2 separate regions of the Homo sapiens genome follow, and region 2 is linked to region 1. Evidence: promoter capture Hi-C in human tissues and cell types (Jung and others, 2019). All regions are on one chromosome and are shown on one strand. Each heading gives the region's core, a stretch centred on a gene start or on the middle of the fragment in contact. The rest is flanking DNA. Distances are from core to core; before and after follow the strand shown.

Region 1 (5,249 bases), core at 1,302-3,801:
CTGCCTCAGCTTCCCCAGCAGCTGGGACTACAGGCGCCCGCCGCCACGCCCGGCTAATTTTTTTTTTTGCATTTTCAGTAGAGACGGGGTTTCACCATGTTAGCCAGGATTTCTCTATCTCCTGACCTTGTGATCCGCCAGCCTCGGCCTCCCAAAGTGCTGGGATTACAGGCGTGAGCCACCGCGCCCGGCCTCTGGAGTCATATTTTTAACCCCATATATTTAATAACGTATTTCCATTAACTCAATATGTTCAAAATATCACTTCAACATATAATCGACATAAAAAGTCATCAGCAAGGACCGGGCCTGGTGGCTCACGCCTATAATCCCAGTACTTTGGGAGGCCAAGGCGGGTGGATCCCGTGAGCAACTTACCAGATCCCTGGGCAACATAGCAAAACTCCCTCTCCACAAAAAAATTACACAAACTAGTCGGGCGCGAGGAGGCGCGCCTGTAGTTCCAACTACCCGGGAGGCGAGGTTGCAGCCACTGCAGCACTTCGGCCTGGGCGATAGAATGAGAGCCTGTCTCACACGCACAAAAAATTATCAAGCTATTTCAGCCGGTGTGGTGGCGAGTGCCTCTAGTTCCGGCTGCTGGGGAGGATGGCTTGAGGCTGCAGTCGGCAGGGATCATGCCATGGCACTCCAGCCTGGGCAATAGAGAGACCCTGTCCCTAAAAAAAAGAAACAGTATCCAATAGCTATTTATTTATTTATTGAGTCAGGGTCTCACTCTGTCGCCAAGGCTGGAGTGCAGTGGTGCGATCGCAGCTCACTGCAACCTCTGCCTCTCAGGTTCAAGTGATTCTCCTGCCTCAGCCTCCCGTAGGCCCGGCTAATATCTGTATTTTCAGTAGAGACGGGATTTCACCATGCTGGCCAGGTTGGTCTCGGAATTCCTGACCTCAGGTGATCCGTCCACCTCCGCCTCCCACAGGGCTGGGATTACTGGTATGAGCCATAGCGCCCGGCCAGTAACCATTTACTGAAATAGGGCTAGTCTCTCAGTGAGAGAGCACGGAAAAACCACAAAGTATCTTTTTTTTTTTTTTTTTTTTTTTTTTTTTTTTTTTTGAAACAAAGTCTTGCTCTGTCGCCCAGGCTGGAGTGCAGTGCCGTGATGTCGGCTCACTGCAACCTCCCCCTCCCGGGTTCAAGCTATTCTCCTGCCTCAGCCTCCCGAGTAGCTGGGGTTACAGAAACCCGCCATCGCGCCCGGCTAATTTTTTCCATTTTTAGTAGAGCTGGAGTTTCGCCATGTTGGCCAGGCTGGTCTCGAACTCCTGACCTCAGGTGATCCGTCTGCCTCAGCCTCCCAAAGTGTTGCGATTACAGGCGTGAGACACCGCGCCAGCTTCCCCCCGCCCCCATCCCCCCCCCTTTTTTTTTTTTTTAACGACTCGAGGTGCGCTGGCTCACGCCTGCAATCCCAACAGTTCGGGAGACGAAGGCGGGAGGATCGCTTGAGCCCTGGGCTTGGGCCACCTTGGGCAACACAGCGAGACCCCATCGCAACAAAAATTTACAAAAAAAAGCCAGGCGTAGTGGCGCGCGCCTGTGGTCCCAACTACTGGAGAGGCAGAGGGGAGCCACCACACCCGGCTAATTTTTTTATTACTTGCGGAGACGGGGGCTCGCTACGTTGCCCAGGCTGGTCTCGAACCCCTGAGCTCAAGCGATCCTCCCGCCTCAGCCTCCCAAAGTGCTGCGATTGCTGAGATTACACGCGTGAGCCACTCCCACCTGGCTACAACTCAGTAGTTATACAAACTACCCTCTATGAAATTCAGACAATAATACACCAACTGCTGTCTTGGAGATTTATTGGCAACAAGGCGCCACGATAAGCATCCTACGGCCATTACTTCCTTCCCCCCACCAGGACTGACCCCTCGCCCGTACCCACCGCCCAGCGCCTCTTTTACCACATGTTTAGGACAAATTGTCACATTCGACTTTGAAAACCACCCACGGAAAGCAAGCGCGATCACCCCTACCTCAACGCTGAGGTACCGAGGCCCAGAGAGGTCGGCAACTTAAAGTTGATTTACCAGAGACAGAAATCGGCACCCACCCGGGTCCTTCCCTTCCCGCACCCCCAAATTCTACGGCCTTTCCGGGCAACGCCAGCAACAGGGGCAACTTGCCGCTTCCCGACCCCCGGACGCCCCGCAGTATTCAGGCTCCCCTCACTTGCGAACGTATTTCCGGGCTTCTGTCTCGTCATAAAACTGCGAAAAAGAGAAAATGGCATGTAGAGGAATAATTCAGACGCGGTGGCCGCAGAAGTGGGGAGAGGGGTGTCCGCGGGCCCCGGGACTTACCAGCTCTGGGGGTCCGCCATGCTCCGGACGCCGGCCGCGGGACGCCATTCTCACGCCTCAGCAGCACACCTGCGACTGGCGCCTGCCGGCACCCGGTTTTTATGTCATCAGCCCGGCGACCGCTTAGTAATACGCATGTTCCACCCCCACGACCGCCCCGCCCCCCCCTTTACGTGACTGGCCACAGGGCGACCAACCGACTCCTCTCATTGGCCGGTTTCTCTTGCACCGCCTGCCGAATCAATTCAACATGGCAGCCATGCGCTGGCGATGGTGGCAGCGGCTGTTACCTTGGAGGTTGCTGCAGGCCCGTGGCTTTCCACAAAATTCTGCACCCAGCCTGGGCCTAGGAGCGAGGACTTATTCCCAGGGCGACTGCTCGTATTCGCGCACGGCGCTGTATGATCTGCTCGGCGTCCCCTCCACAGCCACGCAGGCCCAAATCAAGGCGGCTTACTACCGTCAGTGCTTTCTCTACCACCCGGACCGCAACTCCGGGAGCGCGGAGGCCGCCGAGCGCTTCACGCGCATCTCCCAGGCCTACGTGGTGCTGGGCAGTGCCACCCTCCGTCGCAAGTATGATCGCGGCCTACTCAGCGACGAGGACCTGCGCGGACCTGGCGTCCGGCCCTCCAGGACGCCCGCACCCGACCCCGGCTCGCCGCGTACCCCGCCGCCCACCTCTCGGACCCACGACGGTTCTCGGGCCTCCCCCGGCGCCAACCGCACGATGTTCAACTTTGACGCCTTCTACCAGGCCCACTACGGGGAACAACTGGAGCGGGAACGGCGCCTGAGGGCCCGGCGGGAGGCCCTTCGCAAACGGCAGGAGTATCGGTCCATGAAAGGCCTCCGCTGGGAGGATACCCGAGACACGGCTGCCATTTTCCTCATCTTTTCAATCTTCATCATCATCGGCTTTTATATTTAATCGGAGAGAGAAGGGAAGGGGAGTGTCCCCAGCCAACCCCCCAGAAACGGCCTTTTTTCCTGCCTCTGAACCCTTGGCCATTGATAGTCTACCTTTGCTGGGATCCGAAGGAACTGTACTCCCCCTGCCCTCCCCGACCCGCCCAGCTTAGCCGATGACCTGCACATCGCTCCACTGTGGTCCAGAAAAGGAGGCCTTTCGATGTCTGAGAAAGAGGCCCCACGCTGTAGAGTCCCGAAAGCCCAGGAGTGAAGGGGGTTCCTGGAGTCTCTAGGGTGCTTCTTCCAGAGTCTGTCTTCTTGCTTCCAGATGTGGTCAACTTCTGGAACACTCGCTGTAGCTTTATTGTTTAGCCCCAAGCAAGATTTATCTCCTCCTGCCCCGCATGTGTATGGTGGGCCTCTGTAACCTTGAAATGTGCAATGTGACCAATTGTTGACTACCAAAAGAAAAGGTCTGGGGTTGTACGAAACTTGTCTTTCTGTGACTTCCCCAAGCCGCAGGTGAGACCTGGTCCAGGGTAAGAATGGGATCGGTGGAGAGCCTGTCGTTCCTCCCGCTAAGGTCAGCCCCCTGGGGCACTCCTCCTTATGTTGATAGCATGTAGGAGTGAGAAAAAGTCATTGAGCATAAGGAATGAGTGTTCCTGTGCCCATATTTAATGTGTGACCTTGGAGAAGTTACTCTGTAGGCATGACAGCAGAGGAGAAAATCATTTGGCATCTTGAGGTCTGTCATGCTTTATTATCCATAGTTTTTGGGGGGTTTTTTGTTTTGTTTTGTTTTTGAGATGGAGTCTTGCGCTCTGTTGCCCAGGCTGGAGTGCAGTGGTGCGATCTTAGCTCACTGCAACCTCCACCTCCCGGGTTCAAGCGATTCTCCTGCCTCAGCCTCCTGTGTAACTGGGATTACAGGCTCCCACCACACCTGGCTAGTGTTTTGTATTTTTAGTAGATACGGGGTTTCACCATGCTGGCCAGACTGAGGTCTCGAACTGCCGACCTCAGGCTGTCTGCCCGTCCAGCCTCCCAAAGTGCTGGGATTGCAGGCATGAGCCACTGCTCCCGGCCCTATTATCCATAGTTCTAATCCACAGGGATTACAGCATAATGCTAGCAGGGCCAGGTTCATCCTTGAGACAGTGTGGCTGGCTGTCACCTGGTCCTCCCTTTACCAGCCAGCCCCATTGCACACTGTGCAGCCCATCCCCTCCCAGAAATAGAGTGACAAACTCTGCACTTAAGTCCCCTGTTTCTGTTTAACTTGCAGTGCTTATCACAGGCCCTTCCTTAATTTTTTAAACAAGGCTGCTTGAGGCTGGGGTAAATTTTGGGGCTTTGGGAGTACACAGGACTACTGAGGGACGGGGAGTTGGTGGCTTGGTGTTCATGGTGGAGACTTGGTTCTTTACGCAGAGCAGGCTAAAGGCGTGTTTTTTCTGCTCTGTTTCTAATTCATGTTAAGTAGTTGGTCATCACTTTGGTCAGAGCTGCTGCTGAAGCTCTCTTAACTGTGAGTCACTGGACGTTGGCAGGGAGTTGGCTGTGAGATTGTAGGTGCTCAAGTGTTTCTGTTCGGGACTGAGTGTGAATCTGTAAAAGGGGAAAATCCTCGCAAGAGGTCTACGAGAAGGATGAGGGCCCAAGTCTAGGGTCTAAACAAAGCCAGGAGTGGTTTGGTATATTACTGAGTGCAATCATTGCGTGCCATTCCTGCACTCAATGTATTGTGTAAAATCCTTAGGTAAAATGGGATAAACCCACAGCTGGTCCTACTTGGCCTCTTGAAAACCATTCCATCATTGTGCCAATCTAGCCTGAAAAGGAAAAAAAAAAAGGGAAACCATTGATTGTCTCTTGCCTCGGAGGTTGGGGGTATGCCCCTACTCCAGGCTTTGCAGTGATCATATGATGCAGTAATGAAGATCTGGGGCCTGGCACAACACTTTGGGATCCACCCAAGGCGGGTGGATCACTTGACCTCAGGAG
Region 2 (5,249 bases), core at 1,555-4,054, 500 kb before region 1:
TAGCTTGGTGTGGTGGTGCATGCCTGTAATCCCAGCTGCTGGGCAGGCTGAGGCAGGAGAATCGCTTGAACCCAGGAGGTGGAGGTTGTAGTGAGCCCATTGCACTCCAGCCTGGGCGACAGAGCGAGAGTCCATCTCAAAAAAAAAAAAAAGACATCAGAATATAGTATAAATAGATTATTATATTAAACGATATTTGCCATAAGAATGCCCCAGGAACGACTTAAAGTCGTTAGAAGTGAAGTGCCAAGATGGCCAACATTTGTTTTCAAGCAGGTCAGCATAAAGGGCATGTGTGCCGGTATACAGCAAGGATTCAGCAAACAAGGCAGAATAGTCACTTCTGCATCCACTAGCGTCATCCAACTGTACCATTATTTCAACCTTATTGTAGATTTGAAAATTTCCAAAATAAAACGTTTGGAAAACTCAGGAGGAAAAAAAAATTAAGGGGGTGATTTTTTTTTGAAACAGACATTTAACCCATTTCCTGTTTGCTCCAAGAATACCGTGCTGGCAGCCAACTGCAGTTTTTTTTTCTAAACGGGAAATGCGTTCAAATAAATGAGATCCTTCACAACAACCCAAGACCTGCCCAAAGTCACCCTCTTTGCAGGGGAAATATTAATATCCATCTTAGAGAGCAACCTGGTCTTTCATCTACATACTGCCAGAAACACAATGGAAATTCCACTTCTTCCTGAAGATAAATTCCAGGTGTCTTGCAGACAAATATTATTCATTAAAGCATTTTTCTAAAGTAGAAGGGTCAACCAAGCTGTGATGATTCTTTGATGGTTAAAAAAAAAAAAGCTTTTAAGTTTCATAATTCACAATTCCGGTACTTTCCAATAGGAAGTTCCACGTTCTGTTCTAAGACCACCAGAAAATAGGTTTACAAGTGAATTGCATCCTACCTGCCCACTTCTCCCATCTTTTCGGGCCTAGTAAATGTGACTTACTTTGCATTTCAATAACCTTTGCCAATAGTACTCTATCGCTGATATCTCCGAAATCATAAATCCTAAAATATTTTCAGTAAGATACTATTTAGGACGGGATAATAAATATATGAGTTACAGTATAAAGCCGGGCCCAGTGGCTCATGCCTGTAATCCCAACAGTTTGGGAGGCTGAGGCGGGAGGATCACTTAAAGCCAGGAGTTCAAGACCAGCCTGGGCAACACAGTAAGACCCCATCTCTATAAAAAATACAAAAAATTAGCCGGGAGTGATGGTCCACACTTGTAGTCCCAAGCTACCTGGGAGGCTGAGGTGGGAGGATCACCTGAGCCCAGGAGGTTGTTGCTGCAGTGAACTGTGATGGCACCACTGCACTCCAGCCTGGGTGACAGAAGGAGACTGTCTCCAACTGAAGAAACAACAACAACAACAAAAAGGCGGGGCACAGTGGCTCATACCTGTAATCCCAGCACTTCGGGAGGTCAAGGTGGGTGGATCACTTGAGGCCAGAAGTTCAAGACCAGCCTGGCCAACATGGTAAAACTCCGTCTCTACTAAAAATACAAAAACTAGCCAGGTGTGGTAGCACACACTTGTAATCCCAGCTACTTCAGAGGCTGAGGTGGAGCTTGCAGTGAGCTGAGACTGTGTCACTGCGCTTCAGCCTGGGCTACAGAGCGAGACTCCATCTCAAAAAAACAAAAACAAAAAAACACAAAAAACAAACAAAAAAGCACAAAAAACAACAACAAAACCAAACAAACAAAAAACAAGATACAGTATAAACATGTGGAAAACCATAAAAATGGAGGGTCAATGTTAAAAACAGTTTAAATTCATTACTCAACATTAAACATCTAGTGATGCGTAATGATGTTAAAAGACTGTCTTGTATGTAAGCAGCTCACAGTTGTGTGGGACGTATAAAACACATGTATATATGCAGGTATGTTTGTGTGTATGAATGTGTAACATATACATAAAAACTAAAAAGGAGGGTGAGGATGAAGAGAGATGATAAACTCTCGGGTGTTTGATGTAGTTGCTAAGTAAGGAAAATGGAGGTGCGAAGGCTTGCTAATTGTGCTCGAACTTACAGAGTAGAGGAACTGTGGAACTGAGATCAGGCCAGACTTGACCCCTGATTGAGCACAGGAAGCCCAGGTGAATGCCAGTAAGATGACGGGGCACTGCTAAAAATGCACTAGGACAGGAAGGTGGCTCTGGCTTTGGAGAAGATAGAAAAATCTAGTTTGGGGCAAACCATTTTTGAAAAGTTGGCACGTTACCAAATGGCAGCACCTAACAGCTAACTGGTGATATAATTCTGGAGCAAAGATACACCAAAGCCCACCAAACTGTTCAACTCACTCGTGCCTCACAAAACCACCAGTGGCTTAATACTCTAGACTTTTCAATAATTACCAAAGTAGTCCTAAATATTCCCATACCCTACCTGATGTAGTCCCTTCTACAGGTCTTAAGCACTTTTTACCTTTTCATCCCATTCAATGAAATCACTAGGGGGCAGCAGGGCTGGGCCATGGAGGTAGACCTCATTCAAGCTAGCACTGGTAAAGTGTCCACTGTGTGACAGTCACTTGAGACACATCACATAGGATGTGAGTACCCCAGAGTACACATCACATAGGATGACATCACATCACATCACATAGGATGACACAGATCTGTTACCCACCGATTCATTTACAAAATCAAATGTCAGAAAACTCTGAGCTAAAATGTCTGCCACCTTTCACTAGATTCAAGTTTGGGGGACTACTACCTAAATAAATAAGCTGTGTTTCGTGAAATTCAGTACATTCCTACACAGATCAATAACAACACATGGGAGAACAGGTTCACTTGACACCTTAGCTAGCTTGATGTAGGACCTCTGCCAAATTACCTCTGTACCTATGTTTTCTTGTCTGTTATATTTCAATCTTGATTTTATAAGTTTAAAACTGACCATAAAAACATTTCCTAAGTACCAAGTGCTATATAATTCTGCCATGCTCCTGGGTAGACCCAACAGGCCTGAGGCTACACTGGGCTGGCAGGAGTGCGTGTAGAACAGGAACAGATCAGCAGAGCGTGCCAATTCAGGACACCTGAAGTCAAGGTCTGTGCTGCAAACTCCCTGCCACTACTGAGCAGTGTCCTTTCTACTGCCCATTAGGGACAGTCTATTGATTATGAAAGATTAAAGTAGTCAATTACAGCCTCAGTAATTTAGGAAACCCTACTTTCGGCTCCAAGTGTGACTAAAATCCTTGACAGGCAAATCACTTTTCCTTACTCAAATCAACCACGTATCTGCATGTCTATGAAGGGTGGAGAGAATGTAGAGAAGGCACAAACCTAAGACTCGGTTTCTGCCCTCAAGGAGCTGATAATTTGGAAAGGAGAAATCACGTCACAAGCAAAGGACTGCAGAAAATCTGGAAGATAGCAATGAGAACAGTTTCACCAGGGTGGAGCAGTTGGGAGCCAGGATATGCAGCACAGCAGAGAGCAACAGAAGTGGGACTCCACTTCCAGATGGCAGATGGGGCCAATACTGAACCCTTAGGGTGAGCCAGAAAAGATCTGTAGGTGTCAAAGGAGACTGAGAGAGGGTAACTATAAAAAGAAGCCAATGTACAGAGTAGATGTTATGAGGGTAGGGATGTATCCAGTAAGTAGATGCAACAGAAAGTTGAGTGCTCAAGGCTGGGCATGGGCATGTGGCTCCGGCCTGTAGTCCCAGCACTTTGGGACTGTGATTGTGCAACTGCACTCCAGCCTGGGCAACAGGGCAAGACTATGCCTCCAAATTATGAGACACATCTCATTTAAACCTCCCAACAGAGGAGTTTCTAGCTCTCATTTGGGGAAAGTAGGGCCCAGAAGGGTAAAGTAGTGTAAACCAAAGAAAATGACTGGCCGGACGCCATGGCTCACACCTGCAATCCCGGCACTTCGGGAGGCCAAGGTGGGGAGATCACTTGAGCTCAGGAGTTTGAGACCAGCGTGGGGAACACGGCAAAACCCCATATCTACAAACAGGTAACATTTGGGTTTTTGACAATCATCAAAAATGGTTAAGCTTTCAAAGGTCAAGCCTTTGATAAATACCATTTATACTACCTATTATAAACCATAGTAGTATAGAGAAGAGTGGTCACTTAAAGAGTAGGTAATGGGTATACAGGTCACTATATTATGCTTTGGTTCGTGTTCTAAATTTTCTACATTTTTCTGTAATGTTTTGCATATTCAAACAATCCAACTATACAAAGTCATCTTTGCAAAAACTGGGAAAAACTGAACACTGGGTACTGGAAAAACTGTTGGTTAAAGAAAAAAAAGAAGCCCTTATCTGTTAGAAACATACTCAAGTATGAAAAGTATGTAAGAGGCCGGGTGTGGTGGCTCACACCTATAATCCCAGCACTTTGGGAGGCTGAAGCGGATGAATCACAAGGTCAGGAGTTCAAGACCAACCCGGCCAACATGGTGAAACCCCATCTCTACTAACAGTACAAAAATCAGCTGGGCACAGTGGCAGGTGCCTGTAATCCCAGCTACTCGGGAGGCTGAGGGGTGGTGGCGGAGGCTGCAGTGAGCTGAGATCGCGCCACTGAGCTCTAGCCTGGGAGGCAGAGTGAGACTCCATCTCAAAAAAAAAGGCCGGGCTCGGTGGCTCACACCTGTAATCCCAGCACTTTGGGAGGCCGAGGCAGGCAGATTACCTGAGGTCGGGAGTTCGAGACCAGCCTGACCAACATGTAGAAACCCTCTGTTTCTGCTCTATCTCTGCTAAAAATACAAAATTTGCCAGGTGTGGTGGCACATGCCTGTAATCCCAGCTACTCGGGAGGCTGAGGCAGGAGAATCGCTTGAACCCAGGAGGCGGAGGTTGTGGTGAGCCGAGATAGTGCCACTGCATTCCAGCCTGGGCAACAAGAGTAAAACTCTGCCTCAGAAAACAAAACAAAACAAAAAACAAAAAAAACAAAGAAAGAATATATAAGATACATCTACTACGGTAGCCATAAAAATTGAAACAAAAATTGCTCTAAAGTATGTAATATTTACCAACACAAAGATGAGGATTAAAATTTAAAAAAATAAGAACTATTTTAGAAGGATAGGTGACTAGGATTAGCCTTAAATTATCCTAGCCCACACCTCCACCCAAAAGTAGGGAAGATAGATGTAACAGAAATAGCCAAAATGTTTATGAGGTTAAAACTGGGAAAGGAATGGAGTTGTTTAGTGGGTATAGAGTTTCTGTTTGG

Evidence for each region. Contacts are between HindIII fragments. The study calls those that stand out against the background at their distance.
Region 2: a fragment that was not itself captured here is called in contact with the fragment with the promoter of DNAJC30 in region 1 in 1 of the 25 tissues and cell types used here (dorsolateral prefrontal cortex).

Annotation. Positions count from the first base shown.
Region 1 is chr7:73,680,755-73,686,003 of GRCh38, reverse strand. It overlaps DNAJC30 (DnaJ heat shock protein family (Hsp40) member C30), which reads left to right and starts at 2,551. Exons shown (of 1, transcript NM_032317.3): 1 at 2,551-5,086. The coding sequence starts at 2,581. The coding sequence ends at 3,261. BUD23 (BUD23 rRNA methyltransferase and ribosome maturation factor) reads right to left here and starts at 2,407. Exons shown (of 12, transcript NM_017528.5): 1 at 2,331-2,407; 2 at 2,200-2,237. The coding sequence starts at 2,378. RefSeq lists enhancers at 1-849, 850-1,699, 2,630-2,799, 3,040-3,129. The HindIII fragment of the contact is 30,091 bases long and covers 1-5,249 here.
Region 2 is chr7:74,181,131-74,186,379 of GRCh38, reverse strand. All of the region lies in intron 1 of EIF4H (eukaryotic translation initiation factor 4H), which reads right to left. Among named protein-coding and RNA genes, the nearest start is that of MIR590, 7.4 kb to the left of the region's middle. The HindIII fragment of the contact is 4,931 bases long and covers 339-5,249 here.